2 separate regions of the Homo sapiens genome follow, and region 1 is linked to region 2. The links are contacts of gene promoters, found by promoter capture Hi-C in blood cells and fetal thymus (Javierre and others, 2016). All regions are on one chromosome and are shown on one strand. The core of a region is centred on a gene start or on the middle of the fragment in contact, and the rest is flanking DNA. Distances in the headings are between cores, read along the strand shown. Region 1 overlaps G2E3 (G2/M-phase specific E3 ubiquitin protein ligase). Region 2 holds the start of STRN3 (striatin 3).

Region 1 (6,076 bases), core at 184-2,683, 420 kb after region 2:
GAGAATTCATGAAAAAGAGTAACAGCTGAGAATTAAAAGATGGACAGAATTTTATCAAGAATATTTTAGTGAACAGCATAAACAAAGAAATACTTGGCCATTTATGTGCAAGACACTTTCATACAGGTTAGCTCTTAAAGGTACAGATGGAGAAAGTTAAAAATAGGAAACAATCCATTAACAGAAAATTTACTTGCAATTTCCTTTTCCTAAAACATTCTTAGAGATTTACATGACTTCTTTTCATTCATTCAAAATCTCTGCTGAAATCTCCTAAGTTTTTCATGACTATTCTGCTCAAAATACTATCTTTACACCCTGTCGGAGTAATAATTGGGTATATGTTGCCTCATCCCTGCAAACCCTCAACCCTGAGTTTCAGCTGGGCACATAGCCAAACTTTTGCTGCAGCTAGGTGGGGCTACATGACTGTTCAATGGGATGTAAGTAAAAACAACATGTCAAACTTCCCTGCTCTCAACTTCCACTTTTCTCCTTTAAGAGCAAGCTTCAACCATGTGGATGCAAACAATAATGCTAAGTGTTACACGATAATGAGAGGAAGGAACTCAAGTCCTTAGACGGTTTTGTAAATCACAACTCTATCTCGAAAACAGAGGGCCATCTGTATAAAGGGCCAGATAGCATTTTATGCTTTTCAAACTATATGGTATCTGTTGCAGCTACTCAACTCTGCCACTGTAGCGTGAAAGCAGTCAGATCAGTAGCAAATGGGCATGGCTGCATTCCAATGTAACTATTTACCAAACAGGCAACAAGCCAGAACGTGACTTACAGGCCATTTTTTGCCAACTCTTACCCTAAAATCTAGACAATGGATTTTACAGAACAGTAAACATCTGCCTTGTTTGAGCCACTGTCTTTCTGGGTCTATGAGATACAGAAGTTTAGCCTAAAACCTAACTTGTATATACTCCAACCCTTATCCATCTCCTTTTATTCTGTTGTATGTATGCATGTATGTATTTATGTATACATTTATTTATTTGGGATGGAGTCTCACTCTGTTGCCCATGCTGGAGTGCAGTGGCATGATCCCGGCTCACTGCCACCTCTGCCTCCCGGGCTCAAGCGAGCCTTTCAAGCAGCTGGGACTATAGGCGCGCGCCACCACACCTGGCTAATTTTTTTGTATTTTTAGTAAAGATGGGGTTTCACCATGTTGGCCAGGCTGGTCTCGAACTGCTGACCCCGGTGATCCACCCACCTGTTCTCCCAAAGTGTTGGGATTACAGGCGTGACCCACTGCGCCCGGCCATATTCTGTTTTATTTAGCATTATAATACATTTTACTACGTGATGGCATATTACATTTGTTGTTTATCTTCTGTGTTCTCTCTTAATGTAAATTCCAAGAAGGCAGATACTTTGCTTCACTACTCTATCTTTAGTAACAAAACAGTACAGAATACATAGTATTTCTTAAATAAATGAACAAACACTGGATAAAAAGTACAGAAACTGGAGTAGATAAAGCCATGAAGAGAGGTGAAGGTCTTAAATGCCCTAATGAAGAGCTTCAACTTCGTTCAACAGGCAATGAGAAGCCACTGGGGGATTCCTGAGGAAGAAAGCAATATGGTCAAAACTGTACTTTTGGAAGAATCATCCCAAATAAGAATATTAGAACAACATTCTAATTGTCTAAGCCTAGGGAAAATTTGAGTTTGGTAAAATAGGCACACTAGAAACAGGAAGGAAAGGTTGACAATAAGTCAGTCTTAGAGGCAGGTGACTTGACATATAACTGGAAAATGGAGGAGTATGAAAATGACTCTCCAAGACAGCTTGGAAGTAAGAAGTCTCTTGGAAAGAAAAGGCAAACAGGTAAAAACACAAAAAAGCCCCACAAAAAACAATCAAACAAAAAATTCTGGGAAAAATACTATTTTTATCTTAAACATGTTAGACTCAATGTGCTAGCAAGACCCAGGTCTTATCTGTATATAAAAGTCCGGGGGCTCAAAAATACAGGTCTGTAAATCATTCAGAAAGATTACAGGAGAGAAGAAGCTCTCCAAATAATAAAGAATGATGACTGTTAAGACAACACTGAAAAATGCTAAGTTTCAGGGGTAAGAAGAAGTAAGAAGCATTAAAGAAGAGAGAATCATCAGAAGTAGGAGGAAGTACAATATTAAATAAAATATTGCAGAGAAATTCTAAGTGGTAATTGCAGAAGTCACAGCAGATGAAAAATTAGAAAAGGCCTTTGGACATGGATATTTAGCTCCCTGGATATAAACTATGAACTAGCTAACTTGAGACTGGTGGTAGGGACAGAAGCCTGATTACAAGAAATAAATAGGAAATACGAAGTAGAGACAATGAAGCTTAAATATACTTTTTTTTTAGTAAAGAGGGCACAAAAAGAAAAACGAAGAATTAAAGGGTCAATTTAAAACATGATGTTAGGATAAGCAGTCTTAGGGCAAATAAACAGAATTGTTGTAATACACTGTAGCAACTCACACTTCAATAGTGCTTACTGTGTGATTTAGAAACTGAGGTTTAGTAAGATTAATATGCCCAAAGTGACACAACATATAGTAGTTATAAGAGTTGGCATTCAAAGTAAAATCTGACTTCCAAGCCTGTGCTTTTTTTTTGAGACAGTGTCTCCCTCTGTTGCCCAGGTTGGAGTGCAGTGGTGTGAGCTCAGCTCACTGTAACCTCCATCTGCCGGATTCAAATTATTCTTGTGACTCAGCCTCCAGAGTAGCTGGGATTACAGGCACATGCCACCACGCCTGGCTAAGGCCTATGCTTTTAATCATTAAACAACACTGCCTGTTAATTGAGACAATGGATAGAATATGCTTAAGTAGGAGGGAGGTTAAGGAAGAAAAGTTAAATGGCTTGCATTGTCTCAGTTTTTAAAGCAGTAACATGTTGGCAATGACACTTATATGGCATTATGATAAATGAGTGTTTGCACATGTGACATGTTTAGTACAGGTCCCATTATAAGTGCTGAATAAATGAACTATTTTTAGGCGGACGCATTAAGTCCTCCCCGATCCCTACCACTTGTTTCCCTTTGGAAGAAATTCAGCCTAGTCTTTCTCTCCATCTATCATTCATACCTCCCTATAGAAGGAAGGAAAAGTATTCTAACTGGTAAGCCAAATCCTTCCTCTCTTCAGACCCATCGGCCTCCATCAAAGTGCACTTTCATCTGCTTTCTAGCTTGCAATAGGGAATCTGCCTCACGTTGTCTCTAGCAAGGCAGGCAAATCCATGTATTTCTGAGGAGTATTCACAAGCCATGGTGAACACAGACCAAAATCACATTATCCAACTGGTTTTACCAACATTAAACGTGGCACTTTAATCTCCAGCCATCTGACTTTTAAAACTATCTTTTAACTGGTTCAGAACTCCACTGGTAAACAGAAATATATGTTTACAATCCCTAACTCCTTCATAGATAATACTATTATTTTATTGCAGATCAGTCATTTACATTAAAAGATACCTAGAATGTAGTGTGCATTTTAATAAACAGATACATTGCTTACCCTGATTATAATCTGTGCCACATCAAAGTCTGAAACATCATCTAAAATTGGCTGGGTATTTTCTGGTCCATAAACAAGGCAGTTAAACAAGGTTTTAGAAAAGAAACCAGGTGAAGGACCACCGTGAACTAAAGAAATGGCAAGCATTTTGCCAGCTTCATAGTAAAGATTCTCTTTCAGAGCTGTAAATACAGATGAAAATATATCAAATACACTTCTATTATTATAAGATAACCATCATTTTTTATATTAAAAATTAGTCCAAAAATCTAAGCATTAGATAAATATAATTCTTAGAAGCTATCATTATGTAGAAAATATAGATCTTACCTAAAATATAAAAAAAGACACATTTTTCTGAATATAAAGTAAAAATCTATTGTAGAAAACATAAAACACAATAAACCTACCACCATAATAACCACTGTGAACACTTTGGTGTACAGTCATGCACCATATAAGGATGTTGTGGTCAAGAATGACCAAATACACTAAGGTGGTCCCTAAGATTATAATGAAGCTGAAAAACTCCTATGACCTAGTGATGTTATACTGTCATAGCACAATGCATTACCTTTTGTATATTTAGATATACATATACTTACCATTGTGTTACAATTGTCTACAGTATTCAGTACAGTAACATGTTATACAGGTTTGCAGTCTAGAACCAATAGGCTTTACCATAGAGCCTTGGTGTGTAGTAGGCTACACCAACTAGGTTTGCGTAAGTATACTTTATGATCTTTGCATGATGAAATTGCCTACTGACACATTTCTCAGAACATATCCCTGTTACTAAGTGACAAATGACTGTACTTGTACCTCTTTGTGTATATAAATATAAAAAGTTTGACTTATGCTTTATCCACTTATTATATTGTAAACTTTTTATCATACTACTCAAAATTACTCAAATCTACAGTTAATAAATGCATTTAGACTAACTTAGAGATGTACTATAATGCAAACCATCCCCCTGGCTATCCTGGCTAAGTGATATTTCTAACTTTATGAGACATAATGTTACAGTCAACATACTCACATATTCTTGTTTATATTTATTTGATTAGGATTCCTACAGATGGTATTAGTAGGTCAAAGGATAGGAACATTTTTAAGGTTCTTGATCTATATCACTAAATAATCTTTCCCAAAGGCACAAGTTTACTCCCAACAGTATATGCTGTCTTACCTTACTGTCAGAGCTTGAATTAAAATTGTCATTTCAAATGTATTAGCAACTTTGATGTGCCAAAACAAGTAAATTTTTCCTTAATTTTTAAATTGTTGAAAGCAACTTATTAATAAGTGACATTAACAATACCTGTGTAATAACCTTACAAGCTACATATTCATAGTCACATTTTACAGATGAAGAAACTGAGATCCAGAGAGAGTAAGTAATTAAGGATGTAAAGAACTAGATGTGTACAAACTTGAATTCAGATTCTGTGATTTAAATTCACGTACTCTCCACCATACCAAAGCTGCCTTGAGTTAACATTACTATTTGGAAAGTTTTTTCTTTATTTTTACATTTTATTTTAAAGGGAGTTTATAATTAAACTGTGTGAACTATACAGAGTAAAAATGATGCTTTAGGCAATGGTTAGGATGTTTACAGAAAATATAGTAGGAAATTCAAATGAAATGAAATGCCTTCTCATTTTCTTTCAAATTTCCTATTACAGCAAAAGTAGTATAAAAGCCCCTAAAAGAGAATGCCAGAATTACCCACTGTTTTGAGATGCCTGTTATAATTACCTTAAGTTCTCACCAATAGTGAAGACAGAAAACCATCATATACATAATTGTGCAAAAAAAAAAATATTGCAAACAAAAGTATACTGAAAAATTGGTTACATGTGGACCAGGAAACTATGTTATAAAAACTCTATGTTAACCGCAAATTCCAAATATACAAACAGGAAGAATTCAAATAATCATCCCCATTTGGCCACTCTATTAAAATGAAATTAGAGTTAAGATAAAGTTACACTTAATTATGGATTATTTTAAGGAGAATATTGCTATAAAGAATGTATATTCTTAAATAAAAAATGTTTCACCACAAAATTTACTTTTTAAACTATCACTCCCCCTTCCCACTTTCCTGTGATTCTATCAGTAGTTTATTAACAAAGTGAACAGTATATTTAGAGCACAGGTATTAAATATCAATTCTAACCAGCTATCTATCTCTTTTTCTATACATGTGATATTTGGTATATACAACAATAAATAAAATAATTACCTTGAGAATTTAGAGACAAGTTCTTTGACAAGGACCCTTCAAACAATGATGAGTTCTCAAGATGTTGCATTAAGAGACTCAGAAATTCTTGCTTTGATCCAGGATGCTCACTTCCAAAATTATCATTTTCAATAACATATGCTACTTCAATTGCATATGAAGGATTAAAGTTTCGATTTCTGAATGCATCTAAGGCACTATTCCAGATATTGGCTTTGTTGATATACAATCTTTTAGTTTTTTTTTTAATTTGGAATCCTAACTCTATTAATAGTGT
Region 2 (6,910 bases), core at 3,716-6,215:
GCAATCCTTCAGATAAATGACTTTATGGTCTAAGAAGGATGAAGTCAAAGACTGCTGTATTAGTCCGTTTTCATACTGCTACAAAGAACTTTCCTGAGACTGGGTAATTTATAAAGGAAAGAGGTTTAATGGACTCACAGTTCTGCATGGCTGGGGAGGCCTCAGGAAAATTACAATCATGGCAGAAGGGGAAGCAAGTACATCTTACATGAAGGGCAGGAGAGACAGGAGAAATTGAAGGGAGAAGAGCCCTTTATAAAACCATCAGATCTCCTGAGAACTCACTATCACGAGAACAGCATGGGGGAAACCGTCCCCATGATCCAATAACCTCCCTCCCTTGACACGTGGGGATTACAATTGGAGATGAGATTTGGGTCGGAACACAGAGCCAAACCATATCAATTGCATTACTGATATTTATAAAACCATGATTAAAATGAACGTAGTCACATTCCGTTGGAATTCTTTAAATAGGCAGCACACTTGAAGTTTCAAGAAAGGTAGTTTCAAGACGGATCAGGACAAAATATTGAGGAAGCCAGAGTGGTTGGTGCTAAGTATTTGCCTAAAATTAGACTAGAAACTCTGTGAAGGCAGAGATTACGTGTCTGGGTCACAGTGGATCAGCAGGGAGCAGTAGAGCACCTGAAAAATCGTAGCCAATCAGTACTTCTTAAAAAATAAAAAAAACGGGCTGGGCTCAGTGGCTTATGCCTGTAATCTTACCACTTTGGGACGCCAAGGAAGGAGGACTGCTTGAGGCCAGGAGTTAGAGATCAACCCTGGCAATACAGTGAGACTCCCATCTCTACAAAAAATTAAAAACAAAAAATAGCCTGGAGTGATGTTGTGTACAGGTAGTCTTAGCTACTCAGGAGGTTGAGCTGGGAGGATAGATTGAGCCCAGGAGTTTAAGATCAGCCTGGGCAACATAGTGAGATTCCCTCTGTACAAAAAATAGAAAGGAATAAAGCAAAAATTGAGTACTCACTATGTGTAAGTATTGCTTTTGGAGTGTTTAGTATCAGTGTTACTGATCAGTACACAGATGGTGTAAATATAGTGTAAAAACTATTAGATAAGGCCCTGTGCAGTGGCTCACACCTGTAACCCCAGCACTTTGCTAGGAGTTCAAGACCAGCCTGTGCAACATGGCGAAAACCCATCTCTACAAAAAATACAAAAATATTTGCTGGGCATGGTGGCACATGCCTGTGGTCCCATCCCAGCTACTTAGGAGGCTGAGGTGGGAGGATCGCTTGAGCTGGGGAGGCTGAAGCTGGAGTGAGCCAAGATTGTGCCACTGCACTCCAGCCTGGGTGACAGAGTGAGATCCAGTCTCAAAAAAGAAAAAAAAAAAGATTAAAGAAAAAAAGAGATAAGCATGGGAGGGAGGCTACTACAATAGAATAGTGAGTCAAAAGAATTCAGGGATATGGAGGCTTCTTGGACAAAATAATGCTTGAGCTGAGTATTTTCTTTTTTTTTTTTGTGGGGGAAGGGTTTTGTTTGTCTTAAGACAGGGTTTTGCTCTGTTGCCCAGACTGGAGTGCAGTGGCATAATGATGCAATTATGGCTCACTGCAGCCTGGACCTCCTGGGCTCAGGTGATCCTCCCATCTCAGCCTCCAGAGTAGCTGGGACTACAGACTCACGTGGCCACTCTGGCTAATTTTTGTATTTTTGGTAGGGACAGGGTTTTGCCATGTTGCCCAGGTTGGTCTCGAATTCCTAGGCTTAAGCCATCCTCTCACCTCTGTCTCCGAAAGTGTTGGGATTACAGGCATGAGCCACTGTGCCTGATCTGAGCTGAGTTTTGAAGATAGGCAATGGGGCACAGCATGTGTTAAATTACTGTGGAATGAAATAGCATTATACATTTGAGGAACCAAAAACAGTGGCAGTTTGGCTGAAGAGAAGAATGAGGTGGCATGATAGTGTTATGGTAGATTAGACTGTAGGATGGATCTAGATCAATTTATATGCTTATGTTAAAATTTGGGCTTTATACTAAATTTAGAAATCACTAAACTATGTTAAACAGAGGAATGACAGAATCATACCTTTGTTTTAGGAAGATCAATCAGGCAGCAGTGATAGTGCAAAGTGGGGGTAGAATGGAGGTGGGAAGGTTTAAACTAAAGTATAAAGAGAGACAATAGAATCCACAGGAAAGATATTACTGAGAATGAAATTGGTTTGTGGGGGCTGACTGAAAGGTAGTAGAATGACTGCTAGGCTTCAAGTTTGGATGTAGTGTCACTTAATAAGGTAGATAATAGAAGTAGAGATTTTGTTTTTGTTTTGAGGGTAGGTGAGGAGACAAAAAGGATAAGAAATCCAGTCTTTCCTTAAGCTCAAGTTACCAGTTATAAGTGTGCATGTTAGTCTTCTTTTGATGCTATCATCAGGTCAACCATTCTCACAAATGGTTTTTGTTGTTGTTGTTGTTTTTGGGATGGAATCTCACTCTCTCTTTCACCCAGGCTACAGTGTAGTGGCATGATGTCGGCTCACTGCCCCCTCTGCCTCCAGAGAAGCTGGGATTACAGGCAAGCGCCACCACGCCCAGCTAATTTTTGTACTTTTTGGTAGAGACGGGGTTTTGCCATGTTGGCCAGGCTGGTCTCCAACTCCTGAGCTCAAGTGATCTGCCCGCTTCGGCCTCCCAAAGTGCTGGGATTATAGGTGTGAGCCACCGCACCTGGCCACAAATGTCTCTGTGTGTGTGTGTGTGTGTGTGTATGTGTGTGTATGTCTTTGAGGCAGCATAATTTTTCTGAGCTTTTTATGTGCTATGACGCCCCCTAAAAAGGAATTGGATGAATAAACAGGTTGTATGTTGGTAACTCTAAGATAAATAGTACTTTAATAATTTGAAGAAATATGTAATCTTAACACTTTGTGAAGCCAAGGTGGGTGGACCACTTGAGCCAGGAGTTGGAGACTAGCCTGGGCATCATGACAAAACCCCGTCTCTACAAAAAATACAAAAATTAGCTGGGCTTGGTGGATGCACACCTGGAGTCCCAGCTATCAGGAGGCTAAAGTGGGAGGACCACCTCAGCCAGGGAGCTCCAGGTTGCAACAAGCAGAGCTCACACCACTGCATTCCAGCCCAGGCAACAGAGTGAGACCCTGTCTCAAAAAAAAAAAATAAATAAAATAATAATTTGAAGAAATGGTCCTTAACATTATAGTACTGCAATCTAAGATCTCATTTCATATAGAAATAAAACATGGCAGCATGAGTAACAGGTCCAATCTGCTTTCCATTAAACTGTAATAACAGTAAAGCAGATGTGATAAAATAAGATGCATTACTTAATCTCTTTTGAAATTACTTCCTGATTGGTTGGTAGTGCATACTCCATAGTACAAGTTTTATTGGCTTTTGCAGTAAAGAAAAAAAATTTTAAAAAGTAACAAATTTTCAATGCAATTTTCCTGCATCGCTATTAATATAATTACTGAACCTAATTTCCTTATGTTGTTAATTATTTTTGTCTTATTTTTCAAACAAATGCTTCTTAGCTATATTAATTTTTAGAAACACACTAGTGCATTAGGATATTTTCTAGGAAACTAAGCACATAAAAGTACCCACTATTGTACTTAAAATATTAGCCTTGTCTCTTATGTATATGTTACATTCCTCAAACTTTTTAAATTTTTTGCCGACACGGAGTCTCGCTTTGTCGCCCAGGCTGGAGTGCAGTGGTGCGATCTCGGCTCTCTGCAACCTCAGCCTCCTGGGCTCAAGCAATTCTCGTGCCTCAGCCTCCCCAGGAGCTGGGACTACAGGTGTGCGCCACCATGCCCGGCTAATTTTTGTATTTTTAGTAGAAATGGGGTTTCACAATGTTGGCCAAGCTGGTCTCGAACTCCTGGCCTCAAGTGATCGCCCACCTCGGCTTCCCAAAGTGCTGGGATTACAGGCTTGAGCAGCCGCGCCCGGCCATATTCACTTAAACATTTAATGACCCAGGAGAACATTCATCTAGGATTTTAAGTTGTACTCACAGTGCTTTTATTTTCTGTTTCGATCAAAATAGTCTATTGATGACAATATTTGTGAGCCCATTCATTTCTACCGTATCAAATTGTTAGTCTAGCCAGTCTCCTTCAAACTTCTCTCCCTCTACCCATCATCGTCAAGATCTAAAGGAATTCACTACCTCTTCTTCTCCCAAGAAAAAAAAAATCGCTCCTCCCCCTCTCCCAACCCCCCCACAACCCATTCCAGAAAAGGAAAGAAGAGGGGACGCAAAGTGGAATAAGTTACGACGGGCGACCGAGCGCATAGAAATGGGACCAAAGCCCAGGCTCAAGACAGAGACGAGGAATCAGTAACCACAGCCGGAGGATCTTGGCTATTTGCCAGCAGAGAACTGACTGGTTCTAAGAAACCAGAGGCAGAGCGAGTGACAGGAAGGGAAAGAGGGCCCACCCTTGGGACTGCCTGAAACACTCAAAGAATGAAAAAGAAACGTCAGGAATCCGAGACGGGATGCGGTCGGCCAGAGCGACCAGCCAGGTTAACAACCAGCTCAGAAAGCCGGGACACGGGTGAGAGACCCCTGGGAAGGAAACAGCGCCCGGGGACGGCCTGCTAAAAGGAAACTGATAACCAGGAAGCCTAAGGCCGCCTCGCTTCCAAAAGTCAGAGTCGGAGCCCAGGTGTCCGGTAGCTGCGGCCAGACACCGGATCGGGTCTGAGGGCGGGCCTAGGGGCGGAGCCCGAGCTCTTTCCCCGCCCTCTAACGGCGACCCGGGCTGCGTTCTCAGTGCGCCGGCGTAGGGTGAGGCCGGACTCTATTTGGCGATTAAGCGTGAGGCTGCGTTCGCTACCCAGCATGCTGTGCGCTAGTGACGGCCCTCCGCCTATCCCCTTCCCAACTCTCCCCCCACCCCTCCCGCCGAGGCCCCCCCTTCCCCTAAAGTGAGTGAGTGAGACGGGCAGATGGAGGAGGGATTGTAATGGCGGCAGCCGGCAGCTCCCTGCTCTGACCCACGGCAGGCACACAGCAACGACCCCTTCCCCGCCCCTCTCCCGGCCGGCCTCCGCCCCGCAGCCAGCGCGGGGCCACCCTCTCCGGCCCTTCCCCCAGCTGTCGGCGTCTCGCCCTGCGCCCCGGCCGGGGCCCCACACACAATGGACGAGCTTGCCGGAGGCGGTGGTGGCGGCCCGGGGATGGCGGCCCCTCCCCGGCAGCAGCAGGGACCTGGGGGGAACCTGGGCCTTTCGCCCGGGGGGAACGGAGCGGCGGGCGGCGGGGGTCCTCCGGCCTCCGAGGGAGCGGGTCCCGCGGCAGGCCCCGAGCTGTCCCGGCCGCAGCAGTACACTATCCCGGGGATACTGCACTACATCCAGCACGAGTGGGCTCGGTTCGAGATGGAGCGGGCGCACTGGGAGGTGGAACGGGCCGAACTGCAGGTACCTCGTTGGGGTCGGTGTGCGGGAGCTGCGGCGGCTGGGTTCCCGGCCGGGGGGTGGGGCTGGGGACTCCACTCAGCCGGAGCCGGCGCCTTGGGAGGCCGAGCGGAACCTACCTGTGCTGCTCAGGTTGTGATGGTCCTCTCAACGGCTTTTCCTGGAGTCCCCCTCCCTCTTTCCCGCATAAGCTTGCTCCCCAACCTTCACTGGCTACGCGGTGCGGGCCTCCTCGGGGCAGCCATTTTGGCTTTTAGTATGGCGTCTGCGGGGGCTCCTCCGGAGGCGGCCTTCCCGGGCCTCCGGGGCTTGGGACCGAGCACCTCTCTGTGGGAGAGTCCGGTTTGGGGCCTCTCAACACTGAGTTTGCTCTTGTTTGTTCCTCTTGAGATGAAGAGCCCGAAGAGAGGGACTAGGATAGGCATCTTACCCCCCTTTTCCGGACCACCCCCCTTTCCGATTTGGCGTATCTGGCCCCCTCCCTCAGACTTGGTACGCGCTTGCCCCTTGACAGCCACGCTTCTTTCCTGGGCTGCTAGGGTGCACAGTGACTTGGGACTGACCTGTGAAGTTTTATTTCCCATCGTCAACTTTAAGTACTTTCTCACCTGAGATGCTGCCTTACTCACTTGGATTCTCTGTAGTTATTCCTTACTTAGTGACTCATCAACGCTTTCAGCACTGAATTTTTCTTTTTACAGTACTCTCCACTAGATCTCCTTTCCCCCATCCGTTTCTTTATCTATAAAAAAACCAAACCAGACGATCGATGCTGTATTTATGAAACGACTGAAGAGATTTAATATTCCCTTGAAGTGAAACGTAGTTATATCATGTTACTTACTCTTGCAGGAGAAGCAAAGTGAGATGTTCTCGGAACCCTTCATAGTTGAGCTTGACTCGATCCTCATAATGTGAACCTTTGATAGGCTGCACATTTGGAAGCTGTTGGTAGTTAACAGCTCATGTCCTGGATCTCAAAATTGCTGCATCTTTTTGAAAGGGTTATTTAACTTTCTTGGGTATTTGTGTTTATTTTTAAATACCTTTCCAGGGCAAATTTAGGCTTAGAAGGAAAAAGCGTGTGTCTAAATAGTATTGCACCTGTTCTTCAGACTGTTGTGTATTTAGGGGGTAAGCAGTATTTGCTGTCATATATGTCATATGCCTATGGTGAATCGTTAGGCAAATGTAGTGCTGAAAGGAGGAGGATTGGATTAACTAGAAAGGGTGTCCTCAAATATGCATCTCTTTAGTTTGGTTCTGAACTAGTAAACTTTTATATGACTCCACAAAGTGGGTGAAGTTAAACTTTTCAAAAGTAAAAAATACTTGGGTATTTTGACACTGTATGAAGTCTTAAAAAAAAGTAACACTTGTTAGTCATTTCAGTGCTTTACAATTGTGTTTTGATATAATATTGGGCTTTAAAATTACATAACTTTAAAAAAGCTGAAGTCAAAACTGGTTTAA

The links. The method cuts DNA at HindIII sites, captures the fragments that hold promoters and counts their contacts. A CHiCAGO score of 5 or more calls a contact.
Region 1: a fragment that was not itself captured here is called in contact with the fragment with the promoter of STRN3 in region 2 in 1 of 17 cell types (neutrophils); the score reaches 5.0 in neutrophils.

What each region holds. Positions count from the first base shown.
Region 1 is chr14:30,605,536-30,611,611 of GRCh38, reverse strand. It overlaps G2E3 (G2/M-phase specific E3 ubiquitin protein ligase), which reads right to left. Exons shown (of 15, transcript NM_017769.5): 11 at 5,800-6,076; 12 at 3,543-3,724. Among named protein-coding and RNA genes, the nearest start is that of SCFD1, 14 kb to the left of the region's middle. The HindIII fragment of the contact is 1,846 bases long and covers 511-2,356 here.
Region 2 is chr14:31,024,434-31,031,343 of GRCh38, reverse strand. It overlaps STRN3 (striatin 3), which reads left to right and starts at 4,965. Exons shown (of 18, transcript NM_001083893.2): 1 at 4,965-5,440. The coding sequence starts at 5,159. It overlaps AP4S1 (adaptor related protein complex 4 subunit sigma 1), which reads right to left and starts at 5,695. Exons shown (of 6, transcript NM_001128126.3): 1 at 5,557-5,695. RefSeq lists enhancers at 4,467-4,626, 5,737-5,846, 5,917-6,016 and silencers at 4,757-5,076, 5,167-5,426, 5,566-5,747. The HindIII fragment of the contact is 12,759 bases long and covers 1-5,630 here.